Regions from separate parts of the Homo sapiens genome. Here region 2 is linked to region 1. Evidence: promoter capture Hi-C in human tissues and cell types (Jung and others, 2019). All regions are on one chromosome and are shown on one strand. Each heading gives the region's core, a stretch centred on a gene start or on the middle of the fragment in contact. The rest is flanking DNA. Distances are from core to core; before and after follow the strand shown.

The links. The method cuts DNA at HindIII sites, captures the fragments that hold promoters and counts their contacts. A contact is called where the count stands out against the background at its distance.
Region 2: a fragment that was not itself captured here is called in contact with the fragment with the promoter of ACAN in region 1 in 1 of the 25 tissues and cell types used here (H1 embryonic stem cells).

What each region holds. Positions count from the first base shown.
Region 1 is chr15:88,801,351-88,806,431 of GRCh38, reverse strand. ACAN (aggrecan) reads right to left here and starts at 2,996. Exons shown (of 19, transcript NM_001369268.1): 1 at 2,623-2,996. LOC105370960 (a long non-coding RNA gene) reads left to right here and starts at 2,914. Exons shown (of 3, transcript XR_001751648.1): 1 at 2,914-2,982. The HindIII fragment of the contact is 7,348 bases long and covers 1-4,843 here.
Region 2 is chr15:88,672,397-88,677,477 of GRCh38, reverse strand. No RefSeq gene overlaps it. Among named protein-coding and RNA genes, the nearest start is that of ISG20, 36 kb to the right of the region's middle. The HindIII fragment of the contact is 3,597 bases long and covers 1,383-4,979 here.

The DNA of each region.
Region 1 (5,081 bases), core at 1,747-4,246:
TGCAGTGAGCCAACATTGGGCCACTGCACTCTAGCCTGGATAACAGAGCAAGACTCCCATCTTAAAAAAAAAAAAAAAATTCACACCAAAAGTTAGGACACACAGTCTCTTATCAAGAGAAAACATTTGAAATTTTTGCTATCCATAACTTGGGGTTTGTGACCCACAAGGGGGCTTAGGAGCTGTTAGAGGAGAGGAATTAAAGTTTGTGGTGCTTGCTGAGAGCTGGACAAGGCACCCACTTTATGTCTTTTAATCTTCACAAAAATCTCTTATCGGAGGATTTTCTCCCCTTTTTAGAGAAGAGGAAATGAAGCCTCTGGGAGGCTCAGTACCCTTATCAAAGCCATGTAGCCAGCGAGTGGCTGAGCTGGAATTTGAATCCCAGTCTTCCTTGCATGCAGGCTGTCCACCCTCCTGGCTCTTGCCGACTGTCTCAGGAGGTGAGCTCTCTCTTGGAGCTCCCTCTCTAATTGGGGAGGGGGCATAAGAGGAGGAGAACGCTCTGCCTTGGCATGCAGGGGTGAGTGGCTGCCTGGGATTGGGCGTGTGGGTGTGAGAGAGATGGGGAACAGGGGCAAGAGGTGTGCCTGGGTGTGTGGAGGGCTTCCGAACATTAAACAAAATATTCCCTTTTAAGTATGATTGTCAGTGAATATTCTAGAAAAAGAAAAACATTCATTTACTACTAGAATTAAGAATGATAATAGTAATATTAATAATATGAAACAGTTACTGAGTACTTGCCCAGTGCCAGGCACTACGCTAAGCCCTTTGCTTGGGTCATCTCATATCTGCTGTTTATTGAGTACCCGCTGTGGGCCAGCATTGAGCACAGAGCCTGGCACCTAGGTGGCGCTCAGCAGATATTGGAGAATGAATGAAAATACCAGGCACAGCACTAGAAACTACACGTAAGAATATCTAAATTAAACACAGCTCAAGGTAACCTGTGGAATTCCAGCATCTCTCCAAGAGATATCTTCTTCCTTTGGACAATTCCTTCTTCTGAAACTTTTTATACTGGGGAGATCTACTATTCTGCAATCTTTCTTTCAGGTTAGAACCTCTCCTCCCCACTGCCGCTCAATGCTTCCTCCCCCAACGAGCTTCAGGGTTTTCTTCCCCATTGCCTTTCCATTTCCTGCAGTTTCTCCCTGGAGCCTGTGATTGACAAGCCAACACTCCTAAACCGTATCTTCATAGTGCCTCCAAACCCACCTTGCCCAGGGTGCATGAGCAACCTGATTGCTCCTTGTCCATGGCAACCCAGGACAAGAAAGAGAGATAAGGATTAGAACCCAAGAATTCTGGACTCTTAAATCAGGACGAGGGACCGACTATGGCCTCAGAAAACCTGGATTCTAGTTCTGCCCTTGACCCTAAGTCACAGTTCAACCTTCAGAAATTCATTGCACCTTTCTGGGTCCACTTGCCCTCCTCTTCAGACGAGGTGGGTGAATTTTCAAGGTCCAGAGTCCCCTCTAAACTGTCAGACACCCACCCACTGCAGCACCCAGGACCCCAAAACACCGTGCTAACCCAATTCAGCTTTGTATTTTCCTCCTGGCAGCCAGCCCCACAGAACCAGAATTTACACATCAGTCAACATGCTGGAACTCCAGCTTCTTCATGGTGAAACCCTAGTAGGATCCTGTCAGAACCCAGCTCATGACTGAAAGGAGGATAATGATGGAAAAGTTTGGGTTGGATCCTGTCTCACAACCAGAGACAAGCCCCCACCCCCGCAGCTTGCTCTGCCCAGAGTGTGGTTCAGTTGACATACTGACAGCCTCCAACCCAGCCCCAGGGTTGGAAAGGGCTCCTGCTCCACCAGCATTGGCTTCGTTTGAAGAGGAACCCACAGACGGAAAAACCGCTCGTGGTCGTGTGTCCTCAACTCCCCTCCCCTTTCTTCCTTGAGAAATGCCCCTTCTTGGTTGGACACCCGTGTGTTCAGGGCACTGCTCTCCTCTCCCCTGCTGGCAGTTCAGTAGCTCTGTCCCAGGTTCTGCCACTCTCCCCTGGGCAGACTCTTCAGGCACTCTGGTCCCTGGAGTAAGCCAAGTGGCCAAGGATGGACTATCTAGCCTCGGCTTAGGACCCGCTGTGTCCCTGACATAGTGTCCATATGATTTCATTTATTCTTCCAGACCCCGCGAAGGCCTTTTCCCTCTCAGCTGACAGACGGCAGGCCAAGGCTCAGGAAGGTGAAGCACACCTTCCAGCTCAAAAGTAGCACCTCGGGGATTTGAACCCACATTCCCTTGACTCTGAAGCTGCTACTCTGTCAACCATGGGTCTTTCCAGACCCTAGGATTTAAAATCACCTAGGTGTTTGGAGAAAAGGCTCCCTTGTTCCTTCATCCTGGCGGACTAGGAGACAAGTGCCCCTCCTCACGTGTTCCTTTGCCCCATTCACTGAGTCTGCAACAGCCAAAAAGTTTGCTCAACTCCACCGCGGACGCAGCCGGTGGATGTGCTGCGCCCCCGGCACACATAGCTCTAGGGCGGAGACCAAGGCAGTGCAGCCCCCAGCCCCGGGGCGTGCAGTCTCAGTCCCGTTCCTGGCTCGCCGGGCGCCCTGGGAGAGCCTCGCTCTGGAGGGAAGGAGACAGTTACCTTGAAGAGTTGGACTCCCTTCTCCAAGAACTTCAGTCCCACACACCTGGCGAGGCAGCTGGGGGCTCCTGGGGCCGGGAGGCCCGGGTCTCGCTGCGTAGCGAGGGAGACGCTCTGCGCGGGCGCTGCGCACCCCTCCTCCTGCCGGCGTCCTGTCCGCAGGTCCCCTCGGGCTGTGGCCGCAGCGGCAACTGCTGGGTTGCGGAGTCCTGGCTGGCTGAGGGAATGGACACTGAAAGGTGCCCGGAGACCCTGGCACCCGCGTCAGACGCCGGCCGGCGAGGGTGCTGAGAGAGAGAGACCTTGAGCAGCGCTGCGCGCGTCCTCAGCTCTGCGAGCCCCCTCTGGAGCGGCGGGGAGGTAGGTGGGCGGGCGGGCGGGCATGGCGCGCTGTGACACATACATAGGGACGGGCGGGGGAGGGGAGGGCCCGTGAGGGGTGGGGGCGGGAGGGGGCGAGCGCAAAGGGAAACCCCACCCCCAGGGACCGAGGGGCGGCCGACAGGGGGAGGGGAAGGCAGAGGCGTCTGGAGCGCGCTGGACCCTGGCTCCGGACCGGCGCGCCGATGGGGAAGCCGGCCTGCGCTCAGGGCGGGAGAGGAGCGCTCCCCGGGGCGGCGCGGACCCGGCAGCTCCGGGGCTGGCGGGAGGAAGGCGGCGCGAGAAGGGCTGGAGGGCCCGCATCTGCATTGCGGTCGGCAGCTCCGCAGTCGGAGGGGCCCAGGAGGGCTGCACCCTCAGAGAATCCCCAAGTGCCCGGACTCTGAGGCCGCCGCGGCGGGACAGGGCTCCCGGGCGCCCGGCGGGGTTCTGCAGCTGAGGCTGGCCACGACGCGATCTAAGGAGGGTGCAGCCCGCTACTGTCGGCCACGATTTGGAACGACCCTCACCGAGGAGCTGGCTGAAAGTTTTTTTGGGGGTGGCGTACACCGGGATGGCAGGGGATGGTGGAGAGGGGGAGGTAAGGCGTCAGCGGGGAGGCTCACGGGGAGCTGCGAGTCTCTGGGTCTTCAAATTCCCCGGGAGAGACCAAGGACATCTCATATGAAGCAGGAATTCTCCAGTGTCTCTACAGTACTCTTTAATACCGTTTTCAGGAAAAGGAGAAAAAGAACTAGCAGCTTTTGAATCCCTCCTATGAGCCCGTTGTGTAACATACATTAACATTTCATTTAATTTTTCCAAAGAGCCCAACAAGGTAAATATGGCAACTTCCCACCTGCCCCTAACCAAAGATGTGAAAACTGAGGCTCAGAAAGTGGTGGAGATCCCTCTTGAAGGTGGGACTGAGTTCGAGTCCCAGGTCTTGTGCTCTCTGCTACACAGGCTGCTGGTTGAGCCACAGCACCTTCGGAGGACTCAAGCTGGCTGGTGACCTTCAGAGTTCTTGTGGAGGAAGCTGGTGGTGCTTCACACCAGGATGTGGTGGCCACAGTCAGGATGGTGGTGGAAGCTTCCTGACCCTCTCATTGGGCAAGAAGAGGAAGAAGTGGAATCTTTCGGGACTCCCCACTACAGAGATAATAGACCACACTTTAATCAGTTCCTTGATGAAAAGGAACTGAAGTGCCTCGGTTTCCCCAGGGCGACTCCACTGGAATTATGTGGTTATTTTACTGGCCATCTCTGCCTGGGGGCGGGACTGGCCCTGGCCCAGCACATGCTCTGTGAGCCGCCTGTCTCTCCCCTGTCCAGGGCAGTGAAGCCCCGTCGGAGGGAGCATAGTGCCCACTCTATCCACCCACCTCTCAGAGCAATGGCTAAAGTGTTCCAGTGGTTGGCCATTCTTGATTTCACCCTTTTTCTACCTGAGCGTATTGAGTCAGGTCTGTAAGTCTTGAAGCATTTAGGACACAGACAAAATGCTGGTGACCGAAGCCCCTTAGGGGGTGATAGTGGCTTCTCTCACAGATAAAGAAATGAGATGAGGCCGGGCGCAGTGGCTCACGCCTGTAATCCCAGCACTTTGGGAGGCCGAGGCGGGCGGATCACGAGGTCAGGAGATGGAGACCATCCTGGCTAACACGGTGAAACCCCATCTCTACTAAAAATACAAAAAAATTAGCCGGGCGTGGCGGCGGGCGCCTGTAGTCCCAGCTACTCAGGAGGCTGAGGCAGGAGAATGGCGTGAACCCGGGAGGCGGAGCTTGCAGTGAGCTGAGACGGCGCCACTGCACTCCAGGCTGGGCGACAGAGCAAGACTCCGTCTCAAAAAAAAAAAAAGAGATGAAATCTTAATAGTTACTGGCCTCAATGCCTGGAACAGGGAGAAATGACCCTCTGGGAAAAAAACAGTCCCTGAAATTCCAACGAGGTCATGGATTCTCATGCCTGTGTTTACCTGATGCCTTGTGGGAGAACAAATTGCTCTCATTTGTAAAATGGGTTCATGTCAACATTCATCCTAGGGCAGGTGGGGTTAATGAAGAACAAGTCAAGGGCAAATATTAATTAGGCGA
Region 2 (5,081 bases), core at 1,932-4,431, 130 kb after region 1:
GGAAATGGAAGCTTTAGGATTAGGAGGATAATTAGATGTGGGAGGTGAAAGAGACAAGAGCCAAAGAAAGCTCTTGTTTCTGGCTTGAATGACTTGGGTGGATGAGAAAGTCCTGAAGTCAAGATAGAAATACATGAGAAAGGTAAAATGGGAACGGTGAGGCTGTGTAAGAGTATGGGACATGTTGAGTTTGAAATGCCTGCAGATTGTCCAGTTGAAAAGATTAGAACTTAAGAAAGACACTGGTGGATCATCAGCTAAAGGAGTGATTGTAGTTATAGACTTAAGTAAAATTTCCCAGTGAGACAAGGCAGAGTGAGAAACAGAGATGACTGAGAAGGAAGTGCTAAGAAGAAAATGCTGACATTTAAGTGGCAGGCAGAAGAGGGATCTACAAAGGGGTAGAGAGTGAGCTGGAAAGAAGGAGAGGCTGGTTATACAAAAAAATAATAATAATAAAAGAGAGTTCCAGGAGATTGTGGTTGACATTAATATATGCTGCGGAGAAATCACACAGGATAAGCACTGGAAAGTGTCCATTGGATTTGAGTATTGGAAGGTCATTGAGAATGCAGGTTAGAGCAGTTTCAGTGAAGTCTTGAGGACAGACACCAGGAAATTCAGAAGGAGAAGAAAAGACAATACAGTAAATACAGGCTGCCCTGGGGTAAAGCTTGACTGTGAGGGGAAGGGGAGATATGGCAGTAGCTGGAGAGGAGCTGGAGTGATGGGAACATATGAAAGTGAAGAGTGTGCTGAGGGTGGAACTTACTGTTTCTTGACCTCAATCCAATGGAACATCCAAATATTGACTCAGGGTCTTAAAGGGGAAAAATATTTTTAAATCCCTAAAACATGATAAAACGTGAGTCATGATGACAGTGAATGAAATCAGTTGTGTCTGGCCGGGCGCGGTGGCTTACACCTGTTAATCCTAGCATTTTGGGAGGCCAAGGTGGGGGATCACCTGAGGTCAGGAGTTCAAGACCAGCCCGACCAACATGGTGAAACCCCATCTCTACTAAAAATACAGAAATTAGCCGGGCGTGGTGGCACAAGCCTGTAATTCCAGCTACTTGGGAGGCTGAGGCAGGAGAATTGCTTGAACCTGGGAGGCAGAGGTTGCAGTGAGCCAAGATTGTGCCACCACACTGCAGCCTGGGCGAGAGAGCAATACTGTCTCAAAAAAAAAAAAAAAAAAAAAAAGGAATATGTCTATTTGTTATTAAACAATAAACAGTGCAAATTTGGGGGTGAAAATAGGAAATAAAAGCAAAGACAATAAAGGTTATTATTGTGGAGGAATCTGCCAATACCAACTCAGAGTTATCTTTCTGGTTTGCTTAGTCTGTTCACTTCTGAGAGGAGTATATTACTATCTTCAACTATTATTGTTGCTTTATTTAGTTCTGTTCATGATTCTTCCAGCTGTTGTTTCATCAAGACTGTCCAGTGTAGTAGGTAGTAGACACATGTGGCTATTTACATTTTAATTGGCAGGGCACAGTGGCTCATGCCTGTATTCCCAGCACTTTGGGAGTCCAACATAGGAGAATCACTTGATCCCAGGAGTTTGAGACCAGCCTGGGTAACATAGTGAGACCTGCAAACAATTTAAAAAAAATTAGTCGGGTATGATGATGCACGCCTATAGTCCCAACTACTTGAGAGGCTGAGGCAGGAGAATTGCTTGAGTCCAGGAGGTGGAGGCTACAATGAGCCATGATCCTGCCACTGGGCAATAGAGGAAGACCCTGTCTCAAAAAATAAATAAATAAGTCTGAATTAATTAAAGTTAAATCTTCAATTCCTGAGTCACAGTAGCCACATTTCAAGTGTTCAGCAGCCACATGTTGTTAGTGGTTACTGTATTGAACAATGCAGATATAGAACATTTCTGTCACTGCAGAAAGTTCTTTTGGACTGCCTGGCATTATATAATCCTGGGCTATATTGCTAGATGCATATATGTTTATGTTTATGTCTTCTTGGTCTGTGTTCCTTTTATTAATCCATAAAATGCCTCTTTGTCCCTTATGATGTTTGTTACTTGAAATTCTATTTCTAAGAATTTAAATTTGCAACCCAAGCTTTAATTGGTTTATATTTATTCAACACATTTTTCTCCATATCTCTTTTTACCTGCCACACCTAAAATCTACAAATTTGTTAATAAAATGTTTCTGTTTTCTTGCTGATCAAAGTGATAAAGCAATCACAGAAAATAAAAAGACATTTGATACAAAATTGATACAAAATCACAGAAAATAGACATTTGAGCTTGTTGAAAAAAAAATCACATTAAAAAAATTCATGTTGGTTGATTCAGATCTATCTCATTGATATTCAGCAACCATTTTTCTGCTTTTATTGACTTCTTACTGAATTTCTCCTGGGAAGCAATAAAAAATAATTTGTTTCCTTAAATCCAATCACTTTCTGTGGCAAGCTGAAAAATGGTCCACCAAAAGATATCCACATCAAATCCCTGGAATCTATGAATGTTGCCTTACTTGGAAGAAAGAACTTTGTCAATGTTATTAAATTAAGCACCTTGAAATGAGGAGCTAATCCTGGATTATCTGGGTGGGTCCTGAATGCTATTGCAAGTCTCCCCATGAAAGAGAGGCAGAAGGAGATTATACGTCACCACATGCAGAAAGGGCTATGTGAAGATGGAGGCAGGCGTTGGAATGATGCTGCTGTAAGCCAAAGAACACCATGGAATGCCAGCAGCCACCAGAAGCTAGAAGAGACAAGGAATGGATTCACCGCAGAGCCTGCAGAGGGGGGCTGGCCTCGCCAACACCTTGATTTTAGATCTGGCCTCCAGAACTGTGAGAGAATATATTTCTGTTGTTTTAAGCCCTCAAGGTTGTGATATTTGTTACAACAGCCCTAGGGAAAAATACACTCCTATAACTTCCCTATCTTCAGCCAGAACTCCAACTCTATTTTCCGCCAACAAGAAGTTGAGAAATTTCTCAACTTGTAATTTCTCAACTTTTTCCAACTACAATTCAAAATATCTCTCTAGCCACCTTTTCTAACCCCTCTCCCATTGGTATGGTCAGAACTATTCTTCCTTCCTTTTCCCCAGGCTAACGTCTGCATTCAAGCTCTGTCCCATCTTTTATATTCCATGACCCTGGGCCTTCAGTCACCCTCTCTGAATAGCACTGCTTTGTTGTTGCTGTTTAAAAATAATTATATATTGGATACGTGAGATGCATATAAATAACATACCAAACACCTGTATACCTATCACCTAAGAAATAAACCATTATTAATATAGTTGAAGCCCTCAATACCATTCACCCATCTCCCCCACTGCATTTTATTTGATTTGATTTTTCTATAAAAATAATACCTAAATAATTCTTCTAAAAATTAAATATCACAAAGATTATAATAAAAAACAGTGGCCTCCTGGCCAAATGCTCCACATCACACATAACTGCTACCCAAAGGTAAGCATTTTCCAACCATTTAGCTTTTTCTTCCTGTAGTTAGTTCTAATTTCTAAACAGTACCCGTATGTTGATATTTCTTTGCCATCCTATTTGGAATATTACGTACTGACTTCTTCCTATGAAATATGAAGATATGGCCGGGCGAGGTGGCTCACACCTGTAATCCTAGCACTTTGGGAGACCAAGGTGGGTGGATCATCTGAGGTCAGGAGTTCAAGACCAGCCCGGCCAACATGGTGAAACCCTGTCTCTATTAAAAATACAAAAATTAGCTGGTCATGGTGGTGTGCGCCTGTAGTCCCAGCTACTCAGGAGGCTGAGGCAGGAGAATCACTTGAACCTAGGGGGCGGAGGTTGCAGTGAGCCAAGATCACACCACTTCACTCCAGCCTGGGCCAAAAAGCAAAACTCAGTCTCAAAAAAAACAAACACCTGACGTCAGGAGTTTGAGACCAGCCTGGCTAACATGGTGAAATCCCATCTGTACTAAAAATATATAAATTAGCCAGGTGTGGTGGCGGGTGCCTGTAATCTCAGCTACTTAGGAGGCTGAGGCAGGAGAATCGCTTGAACTGGGGAGGCGGAGGTTGCAATGAGCCAAGATAGCGCCATTGTACTCCAGCCTGGGCAACAAGAGCGAAACTCCACCTCAAAAAAAAAAAAAAAAAAAAGAACAAGAAGAAGATATAACACACATCTCTCCTGACCCTTCCAAAATAGTTACCTCATGATTTGGGGGAATTAAATCAATATTCAATGCTTCTATTGTTATTATTATGTAAATTATGACAAAAGGGCAACATACCTACTACTTTTGTACATTTTCTCATTCTTGGCACTAGTAATTGTCTCTCTTTTTAACTTAGTTTTCTATGTGCCTAGTATTAACTCATCTCAAACTAATAGAACCTCCTTTTGGTATGATTCCCTTTTGTTATTGACAGATATTCAGGACCCCCCTCTGCACTCTAGGTTGGCTCCTCTCTGGGCTCAATACACCGCTGTCATCTGGAGACATCCTATCCTCATCTTCCCGGGAATATCTTACACCTTTCTCTTCTACTGGAGTTCCTCTTTTTCAGTTTCCTCCTCCATTTGGGTGGAGCATATCTTCCAATAGCTTCTTTAAAAAGAGATGTGGAAGATAAGTACTTGAAGGTGTAGATTTCTTAAAGCATCACTTTATTTTGTTTTCATATTTGATCTGTACTTTGCTTGGGTATAGAATTTTAGGTTACAAGTTATGTTCCTCACTTGATGCTTTTTGATGATGTAAAAATAATTTTGTTTAAAAAAAGAAATCACTTTCCCTCAGAAGTTTGAGGCATTACATCACTGTCTTCGGTCTTCTAAAGAAGTCTGGTGCCTTTCTGACTCCTGGACCTTAGTGCATGCCCCATTACTCTTCTCTGGAGGCTTCTAGGGTCTTCCTTTTATCCTCAGTGACTTAATTTCCATAGTGATGTCCCTTGGTGTGGGTCTTCCTTTAGTCATCTTGTTGAGCCTCTAGGGAGCCCTTTGTCTTAGATGATCCATACACTTCTGTTCTGATAAATTTTCCTCCTCCCTGTTTTCTCTCTTCTCTTTCTAGAATTCCTATTCATCAGA